Linked DNA regions of Homo sapiens: all the other regions are linked to region 3. The links are contacts of gene promoters, found by promoter capture Hi-C in blood cells and fetal thymus (Javierre and others, 2016). All regions are on one chromosome and are shown on one strand. The core of a region is centred on a gene start or on the middle of the fragment in contact, and the rest is flanking DNA. Distances in the headings are between cores, read along the strand shown.

What was found. Contacts are between HindIII fragments. The CHiCAGO score rates a contact against its expected background, and 5 or more counts as called.
Region 1: a fragment that was not itself captured here is called in contact with the fragment with the promoter of OR6C76 in region 3 in 1 of 17 cell types (erythroblasts); the score reaches 5.1 in erythroblasts.
Region 2: a contact is called between a fragment that was not itself captured here and the fragment with the promoter of OR6C76 in region 3, in 1 of 17 cell types (neutrophils). The highest score is 5.1, in neutrophils.
Region 4: a contact is called between a fragment that was not itself captured here and the fragment with the promoter of OR6C76 in region 3, in 1 of 17 cell types (neutrophils). The highest score is 5.4, in neutrophils.

The regions. Positions count from the first base shown.
Region 1 is chr12:55,611,424-55,614,811 of GRCh38, forward strand. It overlaps the pseudogene OR6U2P. Among named protein-coding and RNA genes, the nearest start is that of OR10P1, 24 kb to the right of the region's middle. The HindIII fragment of the contact is 3,700 bases long and covers 46-3,388 here.
Region 2 is chr12:55,270,690-55,273,789 of GRCh38, forward strand. No RefSeq gene overlaps it. Among named protein-coding and RNA genes, the nearest start is that of OR6C6, 24 kb to the right of the region's middle. The HindIII fragment of the contact is 2,218 bases long and covers 415-2,632 here.
Region 3 is chr12:55,424,907-55,428,089 of GRCh38, forward strand. It overlaps OR6C76 (olfactory receptor family 6 subfamily C member 76), which reads left to right and starts at 1,348. Exons shown (of 1, transcript NM_001005183.1): 1 at 1,348-2,286. The coding sequence starts at 1,348. The coding sequence ends at 2,286. The HindIII fragment of the contact is 7,547 bases long and covers 1-3,183 here.
Region 4 is chr12:55,221,313-55,224,573 of GRCh38, forward strand. OR10A7 (olfactory receptor family 10 subfamily A member 7) reads left to right here. Exons shown (of 1, transcript NM_001005280.1): 1 at 1-663. The coding sequence ends at 663. Among named protein-coding and RNA genes, the nearest start is that of OR10A7, 1.9 kb to the left of the region's middle. The HindIII fragment of the contact is 1,137 bases long and covers 718-1,854 here.

The sequences.
Region 1 (3,388 bases), core at 646-3,145, 190 kb after region 3:
GATTCTGAAAGAGGCAACTTTTCTTGCTAGGGAAGAACCTCCAGAAGCTTCTGCTCTGCTTTCCTGAATCCATGGGGAAGCAGCAGGGAGGGGGAAAGAAATGATGCATTTCAGGAGAAATTTTTCCCTTTTCATCCTAATTTCTGATGGTCCTATTTGCCCAGAATTGCACATTTCTGGAAAGGGCTTGAGGTCCACAATGGCCAATCAGACTGTGGTGACTGAGTTCTTCCTCCAAGGCCTGACGGATACCAAAGAGCTTCAGGTGGCTGTTTTTCTGCTCCTGCTGCTTGCCTACCTTGTGACTGTCTCTGGGAACCTGATCATCATCAGCCTGACCTTGCTGGACACCCGCCTGCAGACATCTATGTACTTATTTCTCCAGAATCTGTCCTGCTTAGAAATTTGGTTCCAGACAGTCATCGTGCCCAAGATGCTGCTCAACATTGCCATGGGGACCAAGACCGTTAGCTTTGCTGGGTGCATTACCCAGGACTTTTTCCACATCTTCTGGGGGCCACAGAGTTCTTCCTCCTCACAGCCATGGCCTATGACCAGTATATTGCCATCTGCAAGCCCCTCCACTACCCCATGCTCATAAGTAGTAGAGTCTGCACACAGCTCATCCTCACCTGCTGGCTACTAGGTTTCTCCTTCATCATCATGCCTGTCATCCTGACCAGTCAGCTTCCATTCTGTGATACCCACATCAAGCATTTCTTCTGTGACTACACGCCTCTAATGGAGGTGGTCTGCAGTGGGCCAAAGGTGCTGGAGATGGTGGATTTTACCCTGGCCTTAGTAGCACTGTTTGGCACCTTGGTACTCATCACCCTGTCCTATGTCCAGATCATCCAGACAATTGTCAGAATCCCCGCTGTCCAGGAGAGGAAGAAGGCTTTCTCTACCTGTTCCTCTCATGTCATTATGGTTACCATGTGTTATGACAGCTGCTTCTTTATGTATGTCAAGCCCTCTCCAGGAAAGTGGGTTGATGTCAACAAGGGAGTGTCTCTAATCAATACAATTATTGCCCCACTGTTAAATCCCTTCATCTGTACTCTGAGGAACCAACAAGTTAAGCAGGTAATGAAAGACCTAGTCAGAAAAATGACTTTGTTCCAAAATAAATAAGGGCCCTAAAAGTCATCTTCTGGGGAAAAAATGGGTGCCTTCTCCAGAGTAAGTCCACATGACATCAGGCCAAGAGGCAGGAGTCAGGGGCTTAGGCCCCCATTGCACCCCCAGCAAGGTGCAGGTTTCCCCACAGGCCATAAGGAAAATGTCCTGATATCATATGAAGAGTCTTATTACCTAGCCTCAGTCTTAGGTTTGCACCTTCTTTTATCACTCTGTCAGCCAAAGAAATGAGAAATAGCTAGCCTATGTCCCCAGGTGCCCTCAACTAGACTCCAGTAACAGCTGACATTCGTCAGCATGCCAGTTTCATTTTTAACACCTATAATGTTTGTAGAACACTTCATAGTTTCAAAAGCATTTTCTCAACACTAACCTCACTCAATCTTCACAATAACCCTGCGAAACAGATGGAAAAATTATTATTTACATTTTACATAAGATGTTGATATACTCAAACAGTTTAAGTGTATTGCCAAAGATCACACAGGAGACCAGGGTTCAAACCCACAACTTCTGGATCTAAACGCAATACCACATTTCCTACAGATGTGAGACATCTGGATTTAATAGTCATCTTTTGCTGCACGCAAATTATCCCAAAATTTAGCAGCTTAAAACAGCAAGCATTGATTATCTTGGTTTCTATGGGTTAGTAATTTGGGTTCAGCTTAACTCAGAGCAGCTCAATAGGGCTGTTGTCTCATCTAAAGACTCTACTGGGGGTGGGGCATGGTGGTTCATGCCTATAATTCCAGCACTTTGGGAGGCTGAGGTGGGTGGATCACCTCAGATCAGGAGTTTGAGACCAGCCTGGCCAACATGGGAAAACCTCATCTCTACTAAAAATACAAAACTTAGCCAGTCATGGTGGCATACACATGTAGTCCCATCTACTCAGCAGGCTGAGGCAAGAGAATTGCTTGAAACTGGAAGGTGAAGGTTGCAGTGAGCCAAGATCATGCCACTGCATTCCAGCCTGGGTGACAGAGTGAGACTCCATCTCAAAAAAAAAAAAAGACTCAACTAGGGAAGGATTAACTTCTGAGCTGCTCACTCCAGTTGCTGTTAGCAGGCTCTAGTTCCTCAGTGATTGTTGCCATGTGGGCACTCTATAAGAAAGCTCATAACATGGCAGCTGGCCTTCTTTAGAGCAAACAAACGAAAGAATGGCCAAAACAAAAGTGTTTTATAACCTAATGTTAAAAGTGACATCACATCATTTTTATCATATGCTATTTGTTAGAAGTAAGTCACCTAGTCCAGCCCATATTCAAGAAGAGGTGAGCACACAAAGACATGAATATCAGAAGGCAGGGATGATTTGGGAAACATTACATGCAGCCTATTACAATCTACCCTCTGGCACAGTCCACCAATGATTCATGTCCCTCCCACATGCAATATATATTCCACCCTTCTCGAAGTCATCAAAGGTCTCATCTTGTTATAGTTTCCAATCAAAATCCACAATCTTATCATCTAAACCAGGTCCAGGTGTAGATGAAGCTCCTTGGGTGTAGTTCCATAGGTACATACAGCCCCTAACTACTTTTCTCAATCTGTGACCTGTGAAACTAAAAAAGACAAGTTAACATCCCCACACACACCCAACATACAATGATGGGGTAGGCATAGAATAACTATAACTATTGCCACTCAAAAACAGGAAAAGAAAAGGAATTACTGGTCCAGAAAAATTATGAAATCCAGCTGAAAATGATGGAAACTCCTTAACTCATTCAAAACTTGGGAGTAATTCATTATTCCTCTTGGGCCCTTGGTCCTGCCCTCTGAGTCATTTTTTCCTTTTTCATGAAAAGTAGCACACAATTGTAGCTGAATAGTTTTCTCAGCCTTCTTCCTCCCAGTAGAATTACAGTGACCCAAATGCCTCTTTCTTATTTTGTACTGTCTTCTTTTCAATCCAAGATGACAGAGTTTCTGGGGATATAACTCATTCGGGAACTTTATGGATCTCCAGTGTATCTTCTTGATGCTTGCTTCATTAGATAAAAACCACAGCTAAGGCCTGAAAGATCTTTAAAGGTCCTGGTATCCCTATTATTTTATTGAAAGGACCACTGAAACACATTCTTAATTTCTTTAAAAGGTCTTTTGTGCCTGGTACTTAGGCACCACCTTGATATTTCTGAGGTCTTAAAGTATTACAGTCACACTCTTGATATCACCTCTGGACTAGTTTTCCTGACAGTGCCCTGTCAGGAATTAAGAAATTAAAATTAAGAAA
Region 2 (3,100 bases), core at 274-2,773, 150 kb before region 3:
CAATACTTCATTTCATAAAACAGAATACATGTTCCAATGAGTCCAGTGGAGAAGATTGGCTTTCTAAACAGAAAAAGGGCTGAAAAAAACAGAAACAAAGAACAGAAAGCAGATTGGTCGTTTCAAAGCCTTTCCTTGTAAGTTGGGGGCAGGAGACAGAACAGTAGAAAGATTACTGACTGACTAACATAAGGTTACTTCATGTTACTTTTGGTTGTAAAGATTAAAACAGAGGGAACTTAATTATCATGTCAATTGAAGATTAAACCTGGGCTATTTGGAAAACTGGCTGTTACTCTCTCTCCTGATTTCATAAAGTCAAGTAACAACTTAGTTTCCCTTTGTTGATTTGGATCTTTAGCATGAATGACTACAGTCTGATTTAGTAGTGTGGTCTGTTGGGGCCTAGTGCAAAGCTTAATCTAAAAAAGTAATTTCCTATAAGTTTTAGTTAACAATTGTAACAATGGCTAATTAACCATAATTAGCCACTGCTATTAGAGAAGTGAAATTAATCGAGGTAGCATTATTAAATAAGAAGTATTTTTAAAAATTTATTTTTATTTTATATATTAAAGATATACAACATAATGTTTTTATACATATACATAGTTAAGTGATTACTAAAGGTAAGAAAATTAAAATATACATCACCTTTCACAGTTATCTCTTGTTTGTGGTAAGACCACCTAAAATCTACTGTCTTCACAAATTTTCAATATATATTACAATATTATTAACCATGGTCCTGCTGTCCATTAGACCTCTAGACTTATTCATTCTACACAACTGCAAGTTGGTACCCTTTGACCTACATTTCTCCGTTTCCTTACCCTCACCATCCCTGGTAACCACTGTTCTATTCCATAGTAAGTATTAATAATATCATGCAGTATTTTTCTTTCTGTGTCTGGCTAATTTCACTTAGCATAATGTCCTCTAGGCTTCTCCATGTCATCACAAAATGACAGTATTATTTCTCTGTGTGTGTGTGTGTGTGTGTGTGTGTGTGTGTGTGTAACAAATTTCCTTATCCATTCATCCATCCATATTCACTTAGGCTGCTTCCGTATCTTACCTATTATGAATAGTGTGGCAATGAACATGAGAGTGTAGATATTTATATGAGGTGTTTATTTTAGCTCCTTTTGTTATATACCCAGAAAAGAGAATGCTGGATCATGTGGTAATTCTACTTTTAAATTGTTGAATATCCTCCCTACAGGTTTTTATAACGTTTGCACCAATGTACATTCCCACAAACAATGTACAAGGGTTCTCTTTTCTCCAAACCTTCACTGACACTTGTTGTCTCTTGTCTTTTTGATAGTAGACATCTTAACAGGTGTGAGGTAATGTATCATTGGTGTTTGGTTTTACATTTACCTGATGATTAGTGATGCTGAATACCTTTTCATATACATATTGGTCATGTTTATGTCTTATTAGAAATGTCTATTCAAGTCTTTTGCTCGTTTTTAAATTGTTTTCTTACTATCAAGTTACATTTCTTTATAGATTTTTTATATTAACCCCTTATCAATATATAGTTTCAAATATTTTTCCTATTCTGTAGGTTGTCTTTTCATTTTGTAAATTGTTTCTTTTGTGGTACAGAAGTTGTTTAGTTTAATTAGATCCCTCTTGTCTAGTTTTGCTTTTGTTGGCTGTGCTTTTGGTGTCATATCTAAAAATAATATTGCCAAGGCCAATATAAAAGTGCTTTTCTCCTATGTTTTCTTCTAGAAATTTAAGATTTAAGATTTTTCATTTAGGTCTTTATCCATTTTCAGTCGGTTTTTGTGTGTGTTGTAGATTTTTGAAAGATCTGTACACTGAATACTATAAAACGTTGATAATAGAAGCTAAAGAAGAGACAAATAAATAAAAAGATATCTCCTGCTCATGGATTGAAAGAATTCATATTGTATAAATGTCCACAATACTCAAAGCAACAAATAGATTCAATGATGTCTTTATCAAAATTCTAAAGGTATTTTTCATGGAAGTAGAAAAACTATTCTAAAATTCTTATGGAATCACAAAAGAAACTTTGTACATTCTCACAAAGAAGGACTATGCAGCTATAAAATATTTTGGGATATCTCCATAAATTGATATGGAGTGTTTGATTGGATATATTGTTAAGTGAATAAACAAAAAGGAAATAGGTATTTATAATATAGCACATTCAGCTCTAGGGCAATTGGTCTTCAAGAGGCTATGTTTTCCATCTCACATTCACTTTTCATACTCAGTTAAAACATCCTTCCTTAACTATGTATCTGGGATTTCAAAAGAAGAATGTGTGGTGGACAATCAATGTATATTGAATTCTCTGGGGGCATAGTTACAAGAAGTAAAAGTGTGTGTGTGCGTGTGTGTGTGTGTTTATGTCCATAGAGACCATTTTTGTAAGATCCAATATGGTAATTCCCTAGGAGATGATGTTCTTGGATCTCAGTTATTCTGAGAATTATTTGTTTGTATTTCATATTTTCCTGTAATGCACAGAAGGCATAAGTTTTTTATGGCTTAAAGAGATGATTAATTTCCATATTGCACTGTGTGTCATATTTAGGAAAGTATGCAATATTTAATATAAGTAAATTGTATAAAAAGTTATTTGATAAGCTTTCCTAACATGCAATAAATTATTTTAAAATAATATTTCTAAGACAATCATTTAAGCTGATCATATTTTGGGGTAGAATAAAGTGCTTAGGGAAAGAATGAAATATCAATTTTTCCTGTTCACCAGGATTTTTAGTTTAAGTATTGAAGTACAGAAGAGCTGCCTGAATCTGTGTATATAACTTATTAAAGAAAGCAGTTAACCTACCTATTAAGGAGTTAGTCTTTTTACCTCCTTTTACATTTTTAACCTGTAGATAATGGTGAAATATTATAAATAAAAAACAATAATTACTTAGATTTGAAAGTTTTAAAATTATTGATATTTATGTTATAATATTTAACAAAAGTAAATATAATTGCATTTATTTGTCCGTGTTATCTTGATTTTATAATGTGATTTTTTTGTGTGTGTTCTTTCACAGTGCATGTTGGATGGATAGATGGTATGTATGATTGTTGAATG
Region 3 (3,183 bases), core at 98-2,597:
GATTTTGGACAGTGTTGGGTGGAAACATGAGGAGACTATTTCACTGGATGTGTTAAGATGAAACATCAAGATCTTTATGATGAAATCTGTAACTTTGTAGGAGGGGAGAAAAAACAGTTATTTCTTCATGTAGAATTGACTCACTACATGACTTTTGATTTAAGAGAATTGAGCACATTATTTTCTGTTCAATATTTAACTCTAACCATCCAAATTTTCATAATAGGTAAGTATTTTAAATTTATTTTTTGTGATTTAGCTTCTATCCATTCTATTCTGTAGCACTGATTAATCTCATATCATATTTATTTCCCTCTCTGTCTCTTATGTATATGCATATTTAATAGTTCAGAAATTAATGGAGATTTAAAAATCTTTTAAATGGTAATTTCTAGCAATTAAATAGGTAGAACACAGCATATTTTTCTTAATATTTATACATTTACACTTAGAAAGAGCTGGTGCATATTACAGATGTGGGTGTCCAAGATAGTTACTAGACAACATATGTGAAGTATTTGTGCATTTTATATCTGATTTAGATATATGAAGTAGTTGTGTACTTCATTAAAATATTTTCTGAACATGTTTTGGGTGCCTGACTACATTTAAAACATTTTACTAGAAATTTTAAAACACTCAACTGAAAAATACTACATTAATTGGATTTTAATGAAAAGGCTCTTTAAAAAAAATCAAGAATAAAGATAGGAGTTTCAGAGGCACCTGTATTACCTGAAAATAGAATGTGTGGTGGATTGAAAAAAAAGTGGATACTATCTATATAAAGCCATTGTTTAAATGTTCAAAACACATTAGAATGACTTACCCACTGAATTATTATTTTGTTTTACAAAGAAAGGGGTAAAAGATAAATTAACAGAGGTAGTAGTGTCTACATCCTAAAAAAGATATTTATAATTTTCACCAAAAAATTGGGTTGATCACTGATTTACATCATCAGTCCAAATTTTTATTCCTATAAAAGATACAGTAAGCAAAGCATAATGCCCCCTACATTTTAGCTAAATAGTAAAGCATTAGAAAAGTTTATGTTCTATTAATACATTTCCCCAAAATAAATGTAAACTATGGAGACAGAGTAAACATGTAGCAGTGACTGATATTAAATATAGAAGATATATCTTTAAAAGCAGAATTATGGAAAATAAGAAATATAAATGTATATATATACACTATTTTAAAAGTCCCAAGTGCTTCTTGTCACAATTCAATAGTATTTGAAAAAAAAATGTGCAAATATTTATACTTGTCTTTGGACTCATTGTTTTGTTCCTTTTGATGTTGATTTTATCAGTAATCTCTGACAGGAATCAATCATCAGAAATGAAAAATAGAACATCAGTGACAGATTTCATCCTTCTGGGTCTGACGGATAATCCGCAACTGCAGGTTGTGATTTTCTCGTTCCTATTTCTTACGTATGTACTGAGTGTTACTGGAAATCTAACTATCATCTCCCTTACCCTGCTGGATTCCCACCTGAAGACCCCCATGTATTTCTTCCTCAGGAATTTCTCCTTGGAAATTTCATTTACTTCTGTCTGTAATCCTAGATTTCTGATCAGCATTCTAACAGGGGACAAATCCATATCTTATAATGCTTGTGCAGCTCAGCTATTTTTCTTTATCTTCCTTGGCTCAACGGAGTTTTTCCTCCTGGCCTCTATGTCCTATGATTGCTATGTGGCTATATGTAAGCCTCTGCATTATACAACCATCATGAGTGACAGGATCTGTTATCAGCTTATAATCAGCTCTTGGCTGGCTGGTTTCTTGGTAATTTTTCCACCACTGGCCATGGGCTTACAGCTGGATTTCTGTGACTCCAATGTCATTGACCACTTTACCTGTGACTCTGCTCCTTTGCTGCAAATCTCTTGCACAGACACAAGTACTCTAGAGCTCATGAGCTTTATTTTAGCTCTGTTTACTCTTATATCCACTTTGATATTAGTAATTCTCTCCTATACTTACATCATCAGAACTATTCTGAGAATCCCCTCAGCACAGCAAAGAAAAAAAGCCTTTTCAACCTGCTCCTCACATGTGATTGTTGTCTCTATCTCTTATGGAAGCTGCATCTTCATGTATGTGAAAACATCAGCAAAGGAAGGAGTTGCTTTGACAAAAGGAGTAGCTATACTCAATACCTCTGTCGCTCCTATGCTGAATCCATTTATTTACACTCTAAGAAACCAGCAGGTGAAACAAGCATTTAAGGATGTTCTGAGAAAGATTTCCCACAAAAAAAAAAAACACTGATTTGAATGCAATTTATAAATGAAACACACACACATTTTTTACCGAAGAACCAATAAAGATTTCAGCTTTAGTTCCTTTCTGTCTTCTTATTTGTATGTCTTCTCAGGAACACAACTGTTTCTACTATTTTATTTAATGTTAAATTAAATACTAATGTATTTAATGTTCTTACAAGTCCTTATATGAATTTATAGAGAAAAGTCATTATTAAATGATCTGATGCACATTCCTTGGTACAATTCAAAGAAGGAACTAAAGTCATTTCCTATATTAATCTATATACTTAAAATAATATAATTGTAATTATATTTATCACTGCCAAACTTATTTCAACAGAATATGATAATGTATCATCTATGTTAACTCACATAGGTGAATATATGAATACACATGCACATGTATGTAGTCAAATATATGTGTGTTTCTGTGTGTGTCAATGTTTGTGTATGTATACATGTGTATATTCATATATTCATATATTTGCATATATGAATATACACACATGTACACATTGTATGTTCATACATTCACATATATGAATATGCACACATATATACATATATTCTAAAGCTATTATATTTATGTATAATCTTTATATATTATAAATATATTTATATATAATATATAAAAAATATATATTTATAATACACATAATATATGTGTGTATATTCATATATGTGACTATATGAAGAGTGAATATATATATTCACTCTTTCCATTTTTTTTCTTTAAAATGAAACTTAAAGGAAACTCTGGGATATAGTAATAACTGGTATATGAACAAACTCTAAGAATTTAATAATTTAAATAGGGGAATTAATTTTTATAGTGATAATATTTAATTTATGCTTAACTTATATCTTATATAAAATAGAAAAAAATTAAGTTACATTTGTC
Region 4 (3,261 bases), core at 36-2,535, 200 kb before region 3:
TGTGGTACCCAGATGTACTTCTTCTTCTTCTTTGGCAGTTCTGAATGTTTCCTTCTCTCCATGATGGCTTATGATCGCTTTGTGGCCATCTGTAACCCTCTCCATTATTCAGTCATAATGAACAGGTCCCTATGCTTGTGGATGGCCATAGGCTCTTGGATGTCCGGTGTTCCTGTGTCTATGCTACAGACAGCTTGGATGATGGCCCTTCCTTTCTGTGGACCAAATGCCGTGGACCACTTTTTCTGTGATGGTCCCCCAGTGTTAAAACTAGTCACAGTGGATACAACCATGTATGAAATGCAAGCACTTGCCTCCACACTCCTGTTTATCATGTTTCCCTTTTGTCTCATTTTGGTTTCCTACACCCGCATTATCATAACAATTCTGAGGATGTCCTCTGCCACTGGCCGCCAGAAGGCATTTTCTACTTGTTCCTCACACCTCATTGTGGTGTCCCTCTTCTACGGAACAGCCAGTCTGACCTACCTGCGGCCCAAATCAAACCAGTCCCCTGAGAGCAAGAAGCTAGTGTCATTGTCCTACACTGTCATCACACCTATGCTAAACCCCATCATCTACGGCCTGAGGAACAATGAAGTGAAAGGGGCTGTCAAGAGGACAATCACTCAAAAAGTCTTACAGAAGTTAGATGTGTTTTGACTTCTATTGTGTAAGAATGCTTCCAAAGTAGGGACAGCAGAACCTACTAACCAAAGCTTAAAACGGAATGGAAGAGTTGCTCTTATTTCATCACTAACTGGTGGGTGCATTTCTGTGTATCATTCAGGTTCCTAGCAGGAAAGAGATGGTACTCCTGAATTGGGATAAGTGAGAAAACGCTTTATGAGAGGGCTATTTAGAAATTGTGAACAAGGTTAGGTAATAGCCACACAGATCATACAACAGAACTTTTACACTTCTTGGCCTGAAGGGGCAAGTAGAAGGAGTGTTAACTGGAACCAATAGAATGCTACAACTATTAAAAAAAAATCACCTGATAGGATCTCTGTTCTTTAGTACAGCAAGGCAGCCATCCCAACCTTATTTTGATCTGACTCTCTCAAATCTATTGCTGGCTTCTGTTCTAAGCCAAACCAAATACAACATGGGGACAAGAATGTTGATGCAATGTATAAATGCGAGTCTCCTGGGGCACAGAGCAGGATGAAAAAGGGTAAGGAAAGTTATGAAAGATAAGTAAGAACAGCCACCACAAACCACTGTATATTCTGCAGCTATTGCAGTGTAACAACGAATCATGGCATCTAACCTTACAAAAATTATAAAAGGTAAAGTTTTGCAGATGCCAAGAGTCCATAATACAAATTCTTTATATGGGTTGTATGTTTAAATAAAGTTATTTAATAAAATTACCTTAGTATTAATATTTGGTGACATGATTTTGGACTTTTTTAGTCATTGGCTAAATTATCCATTAATTATTTAATAGTAAGCTCTTCTTAGAGTTTAAACAAGAAATATTTGCTTGACACCAGAGTAAAGCAAAAGAGTAATAGTAGTAGCAAACATGGTTTATTGAGGAACTGTCTTTGACACATGCCCTTGCAACAACTCAAGAGATAATTATTATATCTATATTTTTCATAAAAGATAAATTACAATCAGAAAATGTAAGTAACTTGGTAAGGCAAAAGCTATTGAGATGTGGCCACAATAGTTTGAGTCAGACCCTTTTGAATTTGAAATTCAATATATTAACCTCTTAAAAATGTCTAGTCACATTTTTATTAAGTTAAAGTTGCCACCTACATGGGAATTTGGCTTTCAAAACAATGGAGAAGACAAGATTGTCAAATTTAATTATGCAAAATTTATATTTCCAGTAGAATAAGCTTATATCGGCTTTGAGAATGCAACTGGAACAATAATATATGTTCCCGTAAATCTTCCTTAACCAAGGTTTCTGTTAATTGTACAGTTTCTTCTTCAAGCAGTAACAAACCTCCATGTTTCTTTGTTAATTTTCAGAAAAATTTAAAAGCCACCACAAATTTCCAACTTGTATTGACTGTTTTAGTTTAATTTTGATTTGCTGAAGTACATATTTATTGCATGTAATGGGAGTTTGAGGTAAAAAAAAAAAACTATTCCTTTAAATCTTTCTCCTTCAATAATCTCTTAATTTTTAAGCCTAACTCAGATATTCTTGAATTAATGTAACTAAGTTCAATAACCATCTCATAAGACTCCATTATGATGGTTTTCTACCAGCTGCATGTGACTCACAAGTAGATTGTGAGGTTATAAAATAAATTTAGTAGTGCATGTTAATGTGTCCAACAAACTAGCACAGTAAAAAGAAGTATATTCTTGACAATTAAAACTTGTATATATTTAGAGTGTACAACATGATGTTATATATAACAATTATGAGACCAAAAAAATATTTAAGATATATATGCGTATGTATATACACATACACATATTGTGTAATGGCTAAATCAAGCTATTTTAACGTACGCATTACTTCACATACTTATCAACTTTTTGTGGTGAGAAAACCCACAGGCTATTTCCAATTCTTTCATTCAGTATCTTATTGTTCTTGGTTGAAACAGAAACTATTTGAAAATCACTCTAATAATCTGTAAAGAAGGTTCTAGAACTGTAAGAAACTAAAATTTGACAACAATAAATAATAAGGAATGCTTTGTGATTGACATGGGAACACTCATAGTGGAGGTCTAGTAGAACTCAGTCACTTTACAAGTTAATTGGTATTTCCTCTTTTTCTTACCCACTTTCTTACAGATTCAGCTTTTACATCTTTCATAAATTTACAGGCTATGTTTATAGCCTGTGTCATTTATGGTATTTTGTTTCTCTTAAGCATTTTTTACAAAATATACGTAGTCACTGTAGTGGACTGGTTTGTTTTCCCCAAAAAGATATGTTGATGTTCTCATCCTTGATACCTGTGAATGTGACCTTACTTAGAAACAAGGCCTGGCAATGTAATCAATTTAAGATGAGGTTAAACTAGACTGGGGTGGATCCTAAATCCAATGGCTAATGTCGTCACATAAGCAGAGAGAGAGAGAGAGATTTGAAGACAGAGTCATACACACAGGGAAGACAGTTATGTGAAGATGGATGTAGAAATTGGAGTGATGACTGTGCAAACCAAGGAACACCAAGGATTGTTGACCACCAAATCGAAGGAGAGGAGCAGCGTGGAACAGATTTTCCCTTAGAGACTTCAGAAGAAACAGACATGCTGGCATCTTAGTTCCAGAC